Linked DNA regions of Homo sapiens: region 1 is linked to region 2. Evidence: promoter capture Hi-C in human tissues and cell types (Jung and others, 2019). All regions are on one chromosome and are shown on one strand. Each heading gives the region's core, a stretch centred on a gene start or on the middle of the fragment in contact. The rest is flanking DNA. Distances are from core to core; before and after follow the strand shown.

What was found. Contacts are between HindIII fragments. The study calls those that stand out against the background at their distance.
Region 1: a fragment that was not itself captured here is called in contact with the fragment with the promoter of OLFM4 in region 2 in 4 of the 25 tissues and cell types used here (H1 embryonic stem cells, dorsolateral prefrontal cortex, heart left ventricle and 1 more).

The regions. Positions count from the first base shown.
Region 1 is chr13:53,169,466-53,176,526 of GRCh38, forward strand. No RefSeq gene overlaps it. Among named protein-coding and RNA genes, the nearest start is that of LINC01065, 21 kb to the left of the region's middle. The HindIII fragment of the contact is 4,126 bases long and covers 1-3,746 here.
Region 2 is chr13:53,023,956-53,030,753 of GRCh38, forward strand. OLFM4 (olfactomedin 4) reads left to right here and starts at 4,858. Exons shown (of 5, transcript NM_006418.5): 1 at 4,858-5,085. The coding sequence starts at 4,882. The HindIII fragment of the contact is 5,150 bases long and covers 3,340-6,798 here.

The DNA of each region.
Region 1 (7,061 bases), core at 434-2,933, 140 kb after region 2:
TGTGCATGTGTGTGTGTGTGTGGGTGTGTGTGTGTGTGTGAGAGAGAGAGAGAGAGAGAGAGAGAAGAGAGAGAGAGAATATGTATGGGCAAACATGTATGTGAACATGTGTGAGTTTGTGCATAATGGGTGTGGACATGCATATATGTGAGTGTATGTGGGTGTGTCTGTGTGTGTGAATGTCTGTCTTCAGAATGCTTGTAATATAGATCATCATAGGCCTCTTGATGCCCTACAGAGAATTGAGAGACTCTTCTGGAGAAAGTTATTCAAATTATAGAGCAGTTGAGTAATTTTAGTAACCCAGCACATTCCTAAATGTAGTTTTGAAAAGGGGTTTATTGAAAAGAAATAGACCCTTTTCAATAAGCTTTAGGTTCTATCATACTATGAGGCAACATTTGGACAGTGTCCATGGTAATCTGTGCAGCAGTCCATGCTGCATTCATTTTAAATTGGTCTTTTTAAGAATAGCATTAAATGGCTGCTCATAAACAGGACTGAGCAGTTTCTGAGTGGGAGAAGATTCCTCAGTTCTTTACCCATGTGATTTGTAACACTGACGTGGGTGTAGAACATTTCTGCCCAGAATATCATTATACATTACATGGGGATATTTTAGAATAAATATTTTCATTTTTTTCTCAAGAAAAAAATGTGTTTATTGCTAAAATCCTTTTGGAAAATGAACCAAAAGGATAGATTATTATTTTTCATTTTTCTTACAAAATTATGCTCTGAATTGTCCCCGCTCCTTTTAGGGGCTGTGATATCAAAGGCTGATTTCATAATGGCTGTGTTCTGGTGTGCTTCCCTAATTTGAGACTGGGTCTTCATGACATACAGTGAGTGCAACTCCATTAGATGTCTTTTTAATTTAAGTATCTGGAGACTTAATTTTTTTTTCTTCTTAGCTACTTAGACTTATTCAACAGGCATTTATTAAGAAAATTTTGGGTCATCTATAATGACAGGTTCTGGGGAGAAAATGATGAGTATAATCTAGGACCCTCAAGGTGCTCTCGGAGTGGTGGGGGAGGCATTCTCTAAGAAAGAGCCTAATTAAGTGAGATGACAACACAAGGGAGTTCTTTTCTTGGCATTATGGAAGCTTTACAGAAGAAATGATACATGAGCTGAGGCCTGAATGATGGATATGAGTTTGTCATGTGACAGATATTGTAGGGGGGTAGTGAGAAAACATTCCAGGTTAAGTCCTGGATGTATAAAAAGAAACCCAACTGTCGAATTTCCATTTTCAGAGCTAAGTAGTCACAATTCAAGACCTATTTATTATTTTTCCTCCTTTTTCAGTCACTATTCTAGTCTTGCCATTTTCTCTCCTCTCCTTTGCCTGATTCTCTTCCAAAATCTTCTGAATCAAGCACTTGACTCACTATAAAAATATAAGACACCTAGCCTAACAAAGAGCAACTCTCTCCTTCCTTGAGTTTATTATGCTGCCTTCTTTGTCTAGGACAAACTGATTTCTTGGTTTAGAACTTTTTTGGCAGTAGGGTGAGGGGGAAGATTGGTGGCCAAAATGATGCTTTATATTCCCCAAAGCTACTCCAGCCTCTATGTAACAGCCCAGAAAAAGGACAAACCCTCTACTCCCATAGGAAAGACAAATAATTTGGGCAGCCCGCAGTTCTGGCCAGAGCTTATCCTGGGTTGTGTAACTTCAAGAGGCTCACTTTCAGTCAAGGCTAGTTTGAAATTGGTCTCCATTTGCTTTTTATTTCATGCTTTGAATTGTGAGTCATTGGGGTTTAAGTGCCCTTTAGATTTCTTAAAATGGACAAGCCATAAAACCAGACCAAAACAAAAAAACAAAAGAACACAAACCCCCCAAAAGTGCCTTGTCTGATTTGCAACACATTTAGCCTTTTGTGGAGTAAAATGTGCTTCGTTAGTAAACAGCAAGTGAAGATTTATTGGAGTTCGGTAATGAAGGCATCAACAAGTGGCTAGAGCAAATATTTTTCTGAAAACAGCAACCATATTCTGTTCTGTTTCATACTAGGTGGGACTGTAAATCTGCAAAGGTCAGAAAGCAGCTTCCCTTCAGGCTCATATGAAACGCTTGCAGATGTCATATAGTACCAGTTTTAGTTACAATGTTACATAGCAAACAAGGCCAAATTGTGGTTTAATTCCTGCATGTGTGTTCTTGATTTGTGTTGATTTATGTAGAGCAAGGGTTCAGCTTATGACCCCTGAAATGATCTATTCTTGTACTAACACCTGTTTTGTCCTTTGTGTTGCATAAATGATAATCTCCTTTTTGTCTAGGAGGTAATTTTTCTATATGGTGTGAGAATAGAGTTCTTTCTATCCTTTTGGTTCTTGAGAACTTTCATGTTTTTTCCTCTGTTTTCTTTAATTCCATAGTGTAATATAAGCACAGGAAGTGTGGTGTGCAAACTCTGGACTGATTAATACTATTTACTGTGATACTTCTTCTTGTCAATTGCTGCAGAAATGAGATACATCAGACCCTATCTGAAAAGAGGCATCTGGAGTCACTGGCTTCCATTGTCTTCCACGCTTTTGATTTCTTATTTGCTAATGTACAAAATTCTGTGATTGGGTAGGCAATTCAAGTTAGTTCTACAAATATTTATCAAATGTATGTGTAAGACTCTGTATTAGGTGTGTAGGGGCTGGGGAAGTGGAGGCAATAGCATTATGGGCAAAGATAAACAAGAATCTGTCCTTGTCTACAAGAATCCTAATATTTTGAAGGGGAAATGCTGACTTATAAACAAGAAGGAATGAAAATACTTTTATAGTAGAAGCATAAGCACAGTGCTCTGGCAACCTAGAGAAAAGGAAAGCTTTGGAAAAGCCAATTTCTTTTGAGCTGTAAAAATCCTTACAAACTGGAACTCATTACTTCTAGCTTGATATATATTCTCTGGGGCTGTAATATGAATAGATCCAGCTTCATTTCACATGTATATTTCAAAATTGCCTCTGGTTTTGGATATTTGTGGTGAAGCATTTTATAGACTGTGCTGGTTCCAAAGGCAGGTAGTATGTAGTTAAATAGTTATGAGAAAGCAAAGTAGTTTAGAAAAACCAACCTTTTCAAGTCTCCTTTGTTTGGATGACTTTATCTTGTATATTGTCTCAGACATCAATACTTTCAATTGTGGCTCAGAAGTTTTGCTCATCCATTAATTTCCCTTCTTTTTAAATATTGTATTTTCTTAACCTGGAATACATGGATGAGCTTTAGGGAACCTATGTACTCATTGTAAGTATATGCAAAAAAATCTCTCTGTGTACTTTTTTTTTCTTTTGACATAGAGTTTTGCTCTGTTGCCCAGACTGGAGTACAGTGACCCGATCTCGGCTCACTGCAACCTCCATCTCCTGGGTTCAAGTGATTCTCCTGCCTCAGCATCTTGAGTAGCTGGGATTACAGGGACCTGCCACCATGCCCTGTTAATTTTTTTTTTTTTTTTTTTGTATTTTTAGTAGAGACAGGGTTTCACCATGTTGGCCAGGCTGGTCTTGAACTCCTGACCTCGAGTGGTCTGCCTGCCTTGGCCTCCCAAAGTGCTGGGATTACAGGTGTGAGCCACCGCGCCCGGTCAGCTGTTATTATTTTATTATTATTATTTTTGAGACTGAGTCTCCCTCTGTTGCCCAGGCTGGAGTGCAGTGGCAGAATCTCTGCTCACTGCAACCTCTGCCTCCCAGGTTCAAGCGATTCTCGTGCCTCAGCCTCTTGAGTAGCTGGGATTACAGGCGCCTGCCACCACACCCGGCTAATTTTTGTATTTTTAGTAGTGATTGGGTTTCACCATGTTGGCAAGGCTGGTCTCAAACTCCTGACTCAAGTGATTCTACTACCTTGGCCTCCCAAAGTGCTGGAATTACAGGCGTGAGCCACCATGTCCGGATCTCTTCTCTGGAGAGCACATTCTCTTCATCAGATTCTCAAAAACACTTATGAACCATACGATGTAAAACTACCATATTTTCTCGCTTCGTAATTTTATTCACTCTCATTATTTCAATACTTACTAAATGTTGATGACTTTAAACCTGTATTTCTAGCCTAAACCTCCTGAGTTTTATTCTTATATATCCAAATGTTTACCAGCCATCTTTGCTTTTTTGGGCCAATAGCACAAGCCCATGAATTTCAAGATTAAATTCATGATCTTTCCTTCTAAATCTTGCTCACACATTTTCTGTCTTCATTGATGCCACCAACATCTACTCAATTACCCAAGATAGGAAACTGAGGATCATTTTGCTGATTCTTGAGTGTCTTTTAAGACAACTCAAATATCACTTGCATAAGGAAGCACCTTTTGACCACCCAAGACAGGGTGGTTGCTCTCTTTTGGGTTCCCATAGCACTCTGTACGTATCTCCATCATTGTTCAGCCATATATTAATAATCTATTTTTCTGTTTCCCTTATTAGTCTGTAAGCTCCTTGAGAGAAGTGACCCATCTCTTATTTGGCTTTGTAAGTCAGCACTGAGCCCAGAGTCAAACACTCAGTAAATGCTTAGAAATGAATTAATTAAGAGGACGTACATTGTACATGGCTTCCTGAAGTTCAGATGTAGTGATAGTGACTTAAAATATTCTGATTTCATGGCCCATGAAAGAGCAGAAGGAAGAAAGCTTTGTCCAGTGTGGTCTGCTAACATGAAATTATCTTAAAAGTCAGACCTTAATGCTGATTCTATGTCACTCAGTAGGAGGGGAATGCCAACTGTGTGGTAATAGCCTATATTCTACATGTCCTTTCTAAACTTGAAAATCTTCCTCTCTGGAGAAAAAATTCTATTAAGTTAAACATTTAGCTTTTAAAAAAATAATGTTTCAGAATCAAGTAATTAATAATTAATGGCATCTTATGGCAATTTGTGTTAGATAGAAGTATAAAATTCCTGAGTTCTGGTGGAAGCATAAAGGACAAGAATAGTAATACTTTGCCCATTATTGTTTAAGATAGAAATACTTTTAAAATAGGGACTAATTCAAAAGGAGTTAGAATATGTCTCTCTGTCCTTCACCTACCAAACCTCTTTTCAAGCCATTGTAGTGAGGTTTTTTCATTCTTCACAGTCAAATGAATCAGAATTTTGTATCCCCTCCCCTCCTCCTGGGTTAAGATCAAGGGAGTGCTTCCTCCTACTCTATGCCATGTAAGAAGGACTTGAGAGAAAGTACAGTGTTTGTCAGAAAGGAAGCCTGACATCTCACCCTGGCTGACTGTTAGCTGAGCTATAGAATCCCATCTGTTCTTGCAACACCATGGGAGCAGAGCCAAGGGCAGAGAGGCTAGGGAGAAGTCAAACTACATCCTCTAGAGTCTGGACCTAGAGATCAAGCCCTGGCTGTAGCTTGGAAAATCTTAAAAGCAAGAGGCTTGTGGAGAAGCCCCAAAGGCAGACCAATGATAGAAGGCCACAGTGGGAGCGTCGTGTACATCCAGATTTTGAAGAGGCAGAGGTGCAAGTTTTCTCATGGGCTAACTGGACATGGTGACAAGTTTAGAGGTATCTTGAAAGTCCACTGCCTAAGAGATCTGATGGTCAGTACAAGATGGTTTCAATAGTCAGGCTGAATGGCATATTCTACTGGGGTAGGGAAGTGAGGTGCATAGTCTGGGAATGGTGTTGGAGATGCTGTGCGTGTGTGTGTGTGTGTGTGTGTGTGCGCGCACACATGTGTTTGTGTATGTTTTGGGTTGAGGTCTTTCCCCATAGTCCTGTGTCCAGAATTTATTCCTTCTGGTGGGTTCTTGGTCTTGCTGACTTCAAGAATGAAGATTGAGAGGTGAAGCCAGCTGGACTTCCTGGGTTGAGTGGGGACTCGGAGAACTTTTCTGTCTAGCTAGAGGATTGTAAACGTACCAATCAGCACTCTGTGTCTAGCTAAAGGGTTGTAAATGCACCAATCAGCACTCTGTAAAAATGCACCAATCAGCACTCTGTGTCTAGCTAAAGGATTGTAAAAGCACCAATCAGTGCTCTGTAAAATGGACCAATCAGCAGGATGTGGGTGGGGACAAATAAGAGAATAAAAGCTGGCCACCCCCAGCCAACAGTGGCAACCAGCTGTGGTCCCCTTCCACGCTGTGGAAGCTTTGTTCTTTCACTCTTCATAATAAATCTTGCTGCTGCTCACTGGGTCCGCACTACCTCTATGAGCTGTAACACTCACAGGAGGCTCTGCGGCTTAATTCCTGAAGTCAGTGAGACCACGAACCGACTGAGAGGAACAAACAACTCTGGATGTGCCACCTTTAAGAGCTGTAACACTCACTGCGAGGTCCGTGGCTTCATTCTTGAAGTCAGTGAGACCAAGAACCCACTGGAAGGAATAAATTCTAGACACGGTCCCATTCTCAGACTTACTCAATCTTACTTGTTGAGAAGCTAGAAAAAGAAGTTAGTGGGCCGGGCTTGGTGGCTCATTCCTGTAATCCCTGTACTTTGGGAGGCCGAGGTGGGTGGATCACTTGAGGTCAGGAGTTTGAGATTAGCCTGGCCAACATGGTGAAACCCCATCTCTACTAAAAATACAGAAAATTAGCTGGGCGTGGTGGCGTGCACCTGTAATCCTAGCTACTCAAGGGGCTGAAGCGGGAGAATTGCTTGAACCAGGGAGGCAGAGGTTGCAGTGAGCCAAGATCATGCCCCTGCACTCCAGCCTGGGTGAAAGAGCAAGACTCCGTCTCAAAGAAAAAAAAAAAAGAAAGAAAAAGAAGTTAGCCATGGGACAGGCAAAGGAATAAGGAAGACCTAGCTAAAAAGCTGCTATCTTTGTCTGTTTGTGCTACTATAACAAAATACTTCAGACTGGGTAATTTATAAATAAGAGAAATTTATTTATCATATTTTCAGATGCAGGGAGGCCCGAGATCAAGGGACTGGGAGATTCAGTATCTAGCGAGGGCTCTGTCTCTGTTTCCAGGATGATGCTTTGAATGCTGTGTCCTCACATGACAGAAGGACAGAAAAGGAGGAATAGTTCCCCCATACCACTTTTTCTAAGAGCACCCATCACCTCCTGAAGGCCTTA
Region 2 (6,798 bases), core at 3,608-6,107:
TCTGACACCCAGCTGGGGTTTAGCATTTGCCTGGTATCTTAGTTTGGGCTCCTGTCACAAAATGCCATAGTTTATTAACAACACAATTTTATTTCAGATAGTTCTGGAACATGGAATTCTGAGATCAGGATGTCGACATGGCCAAGTTCTAGTGAGGGGCTTCTTCCAGGTTACAGACTGTATCGGCTTTTCTTCACATGGAGGAAAGAGGACAAAAAAAGCTGCCTGGGATTCTTTTCATAAGAGCACCAATTCCCTTACAAGGGCTCCACCCTCATGAGCTAATCACCTTCCAAAGGCCCTACCTCCTGATTCCATCACTTAGGGCTTAAGATTTCAACCTTGAATTTTGCAGACACAAACATTCAGTCCATAACACAGAGACTGAGAATATTCGGGCAGGGAAGTAACAGCAACAGAAAAATAGAAGGTATGACTAAATTTGAAAATGCTTCAAATCGCTGCAGTGGTCGTACTTAAAATTTCCGGGTGACAGTGTCCCATAGGTGCAGGAAGAGTTTGCCTCTTTCTCACAGTTAGAGGTGTAGGAGGTTAGACATGTGCAACTAACTATGGAGACAACAGTTGTCACTCAGAACCCAGGTGCTGTAGCTCAGGTGGTTTGGATGGGAGGCAGGCAAAGGCTTCTGTATTGGGACAGATGAGCAAGGCAAGTACGCTCTTTGCCTCTAGCTGCAGAAACCAACTGACCTGGCCTTGGAGGAACCCGTGGGTGATTTACAATATCCAAGAGGTATGGGATATGAAAAACCCAGGTACTGATGTTGAGGTGAAGTGAAGGTGTGCTTCAATGCTTAGTCGGGAGATGGCAAGAGGAATTTAGAGGGCAGTCTGGTTCTAGGTCTCTGGGCAGATTCCATCTAGTAGGGTCCAGAGATAAACCTGAAGTTTGGTGTCTCCTGAGTCCATTCACCCCTTGTGATGGTGGTGGGGAAAGGCTTCTGGGCACTGTTATGGCTCATTAGTCCAAACTTTCTCTGTGGAGGGTGTAAAGCTTCTCTTTTTCCCCCCAAATTAGTACATGCTACCTTTCAACACTTCAGTTGTTGCCTTTCTGCATTTGCGTAGAAGTTTGCCCTGTTTTCCATTAGTTGCCATTTTTACTAGTTTGGTTCTGCATTTTGTCAACAGGAATGATTTTGCTGCAGATTGAAAACATAAGTATTTGGCTGAAAATTCTGTAATTGGGGGTTTTGATCTTCTAAACCACAATAACATGGCAAAATTTAGGTAGTTCTTGATATAGGATAGGCTTAGGGAGTGAGAATGTTGATTTGGTGTTCAGGTCAGGCTGAGGAATAACCTTAAGAACTCGAATCCAAGTATGAGTTGCTAGAGTGGGCTACATGAGATTGTAGGTACAAGGGCATAATCATGACCCTGGAGAGAATTTGAGTTGCCTATGTTCTTTAACTTGTACAATTTCTCTTGCTTGGAAATCACTCCCTTTTCTTCAACACTAATTTTTAAAAAAATAAGTATTTTCTCCAATAGTTATTTAAGAATTTCCTTCACAATTCTTATTAAATCAATCCACTCATTCATGCATGCATGCATTCATTTATTAAATATATTCCTCAGTGTACAAACGTTTATTAGACACCAAATGCCAAGCACTGGGCTAGGTGCTGGAGATTGAAAACCAATGAAGCCATGGTCTCCATCCCTAAGAAGCTCAGCACCTGGCAAATTCTTCACACTTCAACCCATCTTGGGTCTCTGGAGTCTATCCAGTCATTTCTCAGTATTCATTTAACTGGTTTTGTGTTCAATTTGTGTTTATTCCTAGTATATTCCCTGAAGTGGCCTGCCTTCCGTAAGTGACTAGGCATTTTCATTAGAAAAAATTATGCATTCTTCTTTCCTTATCATCATAGGGCCTGATGTTCTGCACAGAGTAGGCTCTAACACACACTGTTAACTGAGGGACCACTTTCCAGGGTAAATAAATGGGGTCAGCTGATTATTACTTATATACACGATTGTTGATATTGCTAATAGAAATTTGAGGGTTGTTGACGATGTAGTCAACTGATATGAAAAGCCTCTATTACCAATCTGTAGACCAAACACAGCCTCTGTTTTCCTCATATACACCAGATACCCCATAGATACCCTCCTGCAAAAATGCAGCAGTATGTTTGATTTTTAATGACAGGAGGATTAAATTAAAGTTATGTCTACACGGATGTCTTCCTTGTGTGTTGCAACTGTTCAAGAAGTACGGTTTGGGGAGGTCCCCTAATGAAGTGCATAAATAGTAACTTTCTTTCAAACTGTCAGTGAAGATTGCTGTATTACTCATGTGAATTTCGGTGACCCCTTACTCTAGAAGGAGCCCAGGGTAGAACACATTTTTACAAATAATACACTTTGCTTTGCAGCTCTGATAATTTTGTTCCTGTCTTTGAGTCTGTCATACAACCAGGAGGCTGCTTGTTTCTTAGGACAAAGGTATTTGCAGGGAAACTGATCAAACTATTTTTATTAATAATCTCATTATTATTAATAATCTCATTACGGAGGCATCACCAATGCTTTTGTGCATTTGAGGGCTACCAAATAGATTAAAGTTTTATTCTGGAAACTCTGGAGCCATACAAGAACAAAGAAGCTTATGAGCACAGTGGGTGGTGGTTCTTCCCTGGCTAAGGCACATTTGTGCTTGGGAGAACTGCTGTCCCATTTCTGCAGTATTGCCACCCCTCTGGTAAGGGGTCTTCTAATGAATTGGCCATAGGAGACCTTAAAGGTAGTCATGACTACAGGCTATACCACTGTTAATGAGATTTTCTTTCTGACAGGGCACCAACATGCTCCTTGAAAAAAGGTACAAGGAAGGCTCATTACAGCCACATGCAGAGGCTACTAGCAAATGAGAACAGATTTGCCATTTGTTTTGGTGGGAATCGGGAGGAAGAGGGGAATTGTGCTGGGAGGTAGAGACACATTCTTCTCCTTATGTCCATATTCATTGCATTCAATCTTAGAATAATGGATTCAGTCTCCCAGTTTTCATTCTCACACATTCTGTATGCATTCCCTGCCTTGGACTGGGGATCTAAGTGGTTAGAACATTTGACCAAAGAGGCCAAGGCTGAACTGCTTCCCACAGAGAACAATGAACTTTACAGCCCACATTTCTCCCTATCTGTTCTTCTTCACTCTCTATCCATCCATTTGTGGTTTTCCTGTCTCCCCTTCCCCCTCCCCACCACCCCAGTTTCTGAATAGTGTACCAGGGGTTTAAGACCCTGTTTCTCACATTAGCACTGTGCTTATTCTGAGAGTTTGTGTGGAGCTTCTGGGGTGGGGTGGAGTGGGGCATGAACCTTCTCTCCTTGTTTTGAACCCAGCAATCTTACATATTGATCTAGTCTTTAGGAAATTAAACAAACAATGAAAAAGCTGACATTTTTATGGCACGTCAAAAGTCATAAGCAACTTCCCATACAATATTTCATTTAATTCAAACAATTTAGGAATTGTTACAACCCTAGAGGGGCTAAGTGACATGCTCAAGGCCACCGACTCATTGTGACACAGCTTTTTTGTTTGTTTTTGTTCTTTTGAGACAGCCTTACTCTGTCACCCATGCTGCAGTGCAGTGGTGTGAACATGGCTCACTACAGCCGCAACCTCCCAGGCTCAGGTGATCCTCCCACCTCAGCTTCCCAAGTAGCTGGGACCACAGGTGCATACCGCCACACTTGGCTATTTTTTTCATTTTTTGTAGAGACAGGGTCTCACCACATTGCCCAGGATGGTCTCCAACTCTTGAGCTCAAGCCATCCTCCCACCTTGGCCTCCCAAAGTGCTGGGATTACAGGTGCGAGCCAGCATCCCCGGCCCAGAGCTGGGTCTTAATACCGAGACTAACACCTTTTTCTTTCTCCAGGGAAGAAGGCAGAGGTCACAAAGGTGTGTGAAATGTTGAGCAGGGCAAATGGATCCTGGAGCCCAGGGTCAGAGCTGCTGAGCAAGAGAAAATGCATCTTATTTCTCAGTTTTATGAAGAATAAGCTTGAGATCTTGAATGCCTGGCTGGCTCACAAGAAGCTCAGGGGCAATAGAGGTCAAAGTTTTCTGGAGAGAGAAACTGCTCCTGGGGTCCTCCTTGACTGGGTTTGAGGCAGTGCCCTGGCCTGGGAGAGCGGGCACTGGGTCATCGGGATCCCTTTGTTTATTTGGGTGTTTTCTCTTCCCTATATGAAGCATACAGTGGTGAGTACTTGATAGGGCAGAGTCCTACCTGGTTGGCCAGGGAACAAAACGTTGCTGGTCTTTCCTTCAGAGTGGGGTTGTTAGACAACTTTGTCTAGAAACAGTCACTGTAAGGAACAGGTCAACGACAACTTGGGCAATAGGAACTGAAGAGGGAAGCTCAGTCGCTCCTGGAGGAGAGCCACAGTCCCTAAGGCAAGTTCCCTAACTGTCTGTGAAAAGTAGTATTCAGTAAAATGGGGGAGAGCACTAGAAGTGCTGTGAGGCAAAGGACTGAGGGTTGCTTTTCCTCCATGGAGCCTCCAAACTCTGTGTCATCCACAAAGACTACTTTGGTCTCATCTCTTTCAAGGAAGTACCAAGTGGGAAACCAAATATTGGGCTTTACAAAGCACATTTGAGTTAATGTTTGGCAGGGGATATCTGGATCCAAGGGCAGCTCACAGAGTGGGCCTCACTGACAAGGTGTGGGCCATGACTCAGATTCCTGGGTGTCCTGAACCTCCTGGGGCAGTTCACACGTTCCCTGGCCACTCCCTCTTTTCCTACATGCTGGCCATGGGGAAATCACCACTGGGCACTATAAGAAGCCCCTGGGCTCTCTGCAGAGCCAGCGGCTCCAGCTAAGAGGACAAGATGAGGCCCGGCCTCTCATTTCTCCTAGCCCTTCTGTTCTTCCTTGGCCAAGCTGCAGGGGATTTGGGGGATGTGGGACCTCCAATTCCCAGCCCCGGCTTCAGCTCTTTCCCAGGTGTTGACTCCAGCTCCAGCTTCAGCTCCAGCTCCAGGTCGGGCTCCAGCTCCAGCCGCAGCTTAGGCAGCGGAGGTTCTGTGTCCCAGGTGAGGAGGCCCCAGAATCTGAATGAGCTGCATTCATTCCCTTCCATTTGCTTTTGGGTACCTGAATACAATTTCATGGATGGCTAGACCTGGGCACTCTAAAAGATTTACGACTCATTTTGTTAACTATAGGTGCCCCGGAAATGAATTAAAGCCTCAGTAAAATAATTAAATTGTTAGCAAGAGAGACGATATCGCAGTTCTCCAGCTGGGACTTTTGGGAATATCTATGCTTTAGAGGAATTCTCAAATCTGGCTGCACATTAGAATGGGTGGCCGGGGGGACTCTAAAAGTACAGATGCCTGGGTTCTGTACTTAAAAAAATCCTACATAGATGTATACAAATCAAATATTTTAAAAAACCTCTCCCCAGGTGATTCTAATATATAGTCCAAGATGGGAACTGTTAGGGAAAGACTCTGTGAGTTGCAGCTCTGGGAAGTTTGTCCAGTTGTTTTGCTGCCTGGCAGGATCCCGGAATGGTGAACAGTAGCCCTCGAGGGAGTGAGAGCCGCAGTGCCCTAGTTGAAGCCCTGACCATTTCTCTTGGCCTGGTTTATAAAGGAGGTGGGTGTCAGAAATAAGGGGGGAGTTACTGGTCTTTAGCAAAGTGTTATTACCAGTGGACATTCGCCTAGGGGAGTGTTCACTCTTTGCAGTCTTCTTTACAGGGAATCTTCAGGACCATTTCCAGCTCCAAACAACAGTAGCAACAAACAAACAAAACCAAAAGTCATGCATTACAACGAGGCTGGTACAGCTAGGCTAAGTGCATTGAAGGCATAGTAAGCCAGTTCCGTGGGGGATGAGTCCTCTTTGGATCTCCTTTAAAGAAAGGAGAATGGGCTGGAGGGCATGAGAGGTTAGGAGGTAAGAAGCAGTTATTCATTTCACTCTGGGCCTTTCTGCGGGAACCCCACTCTGCAAACCTCCTAGGCTATTTTTGCTAAGGTATAACTTGGGGTGGGGGAGTCTTATCTGGGCCAAAGCTTCTCTCTCTAAGCCTCTAGGATCTTTCCTCACAGGTCAGGTAGCTGCTTACATTATCATGCTTGAATGGAAGGGCAAATGGGAGAAGGGGGAGGAAAAGACTTTTATTTGTTTTATTTTGACCATCAGAAATTACAGATAATAAAAATGTGATAATTAACAAATGATTTGGATAGGGCCTAGATAGAAACAGCAGCAATAACATTTACTGTGTGTCTAATAAATGCCAGGACTAGGTTAAGTACATAATATATATCTTTTTGTTGTTGTTGTTGTTTGTTTGTTTTTTGAGACAGAGTCTCATTCTGTCACCCAGGCTGGAGTGCAGTGGCACGATCTCGGCTCACTGCAACCTCCGCCTACCAGGTTCAAGCGATTGTCCCACCTCAGCCTCCTGAGTAGCTGGGATTACAGGCACCCGCCACCACGCCTGGCTAATTTTTGTATTTTTAGTAGAGATGGAGTTTCACCATGTTGGTCAGGCTGGTCTCGAACTCCTGACCTCATGATCTGCCTGCCTCAGCCTCCCAAAGTGCTGGGATTACAGGCATGAGCCACCGCACCTGGCCTGTATTATCTTATTTAACCCTAAGAGGTAGGTACAATTAATGGTCCCATTTTAGAGATGTGAAAACTAAGGCTTATCAAGGTGAAGTCATTAGTTTTAAGTCACTAAGCTAGCAAGTTATATAGCTCAAAATTAGTCTGTCCATTCTCTTCAC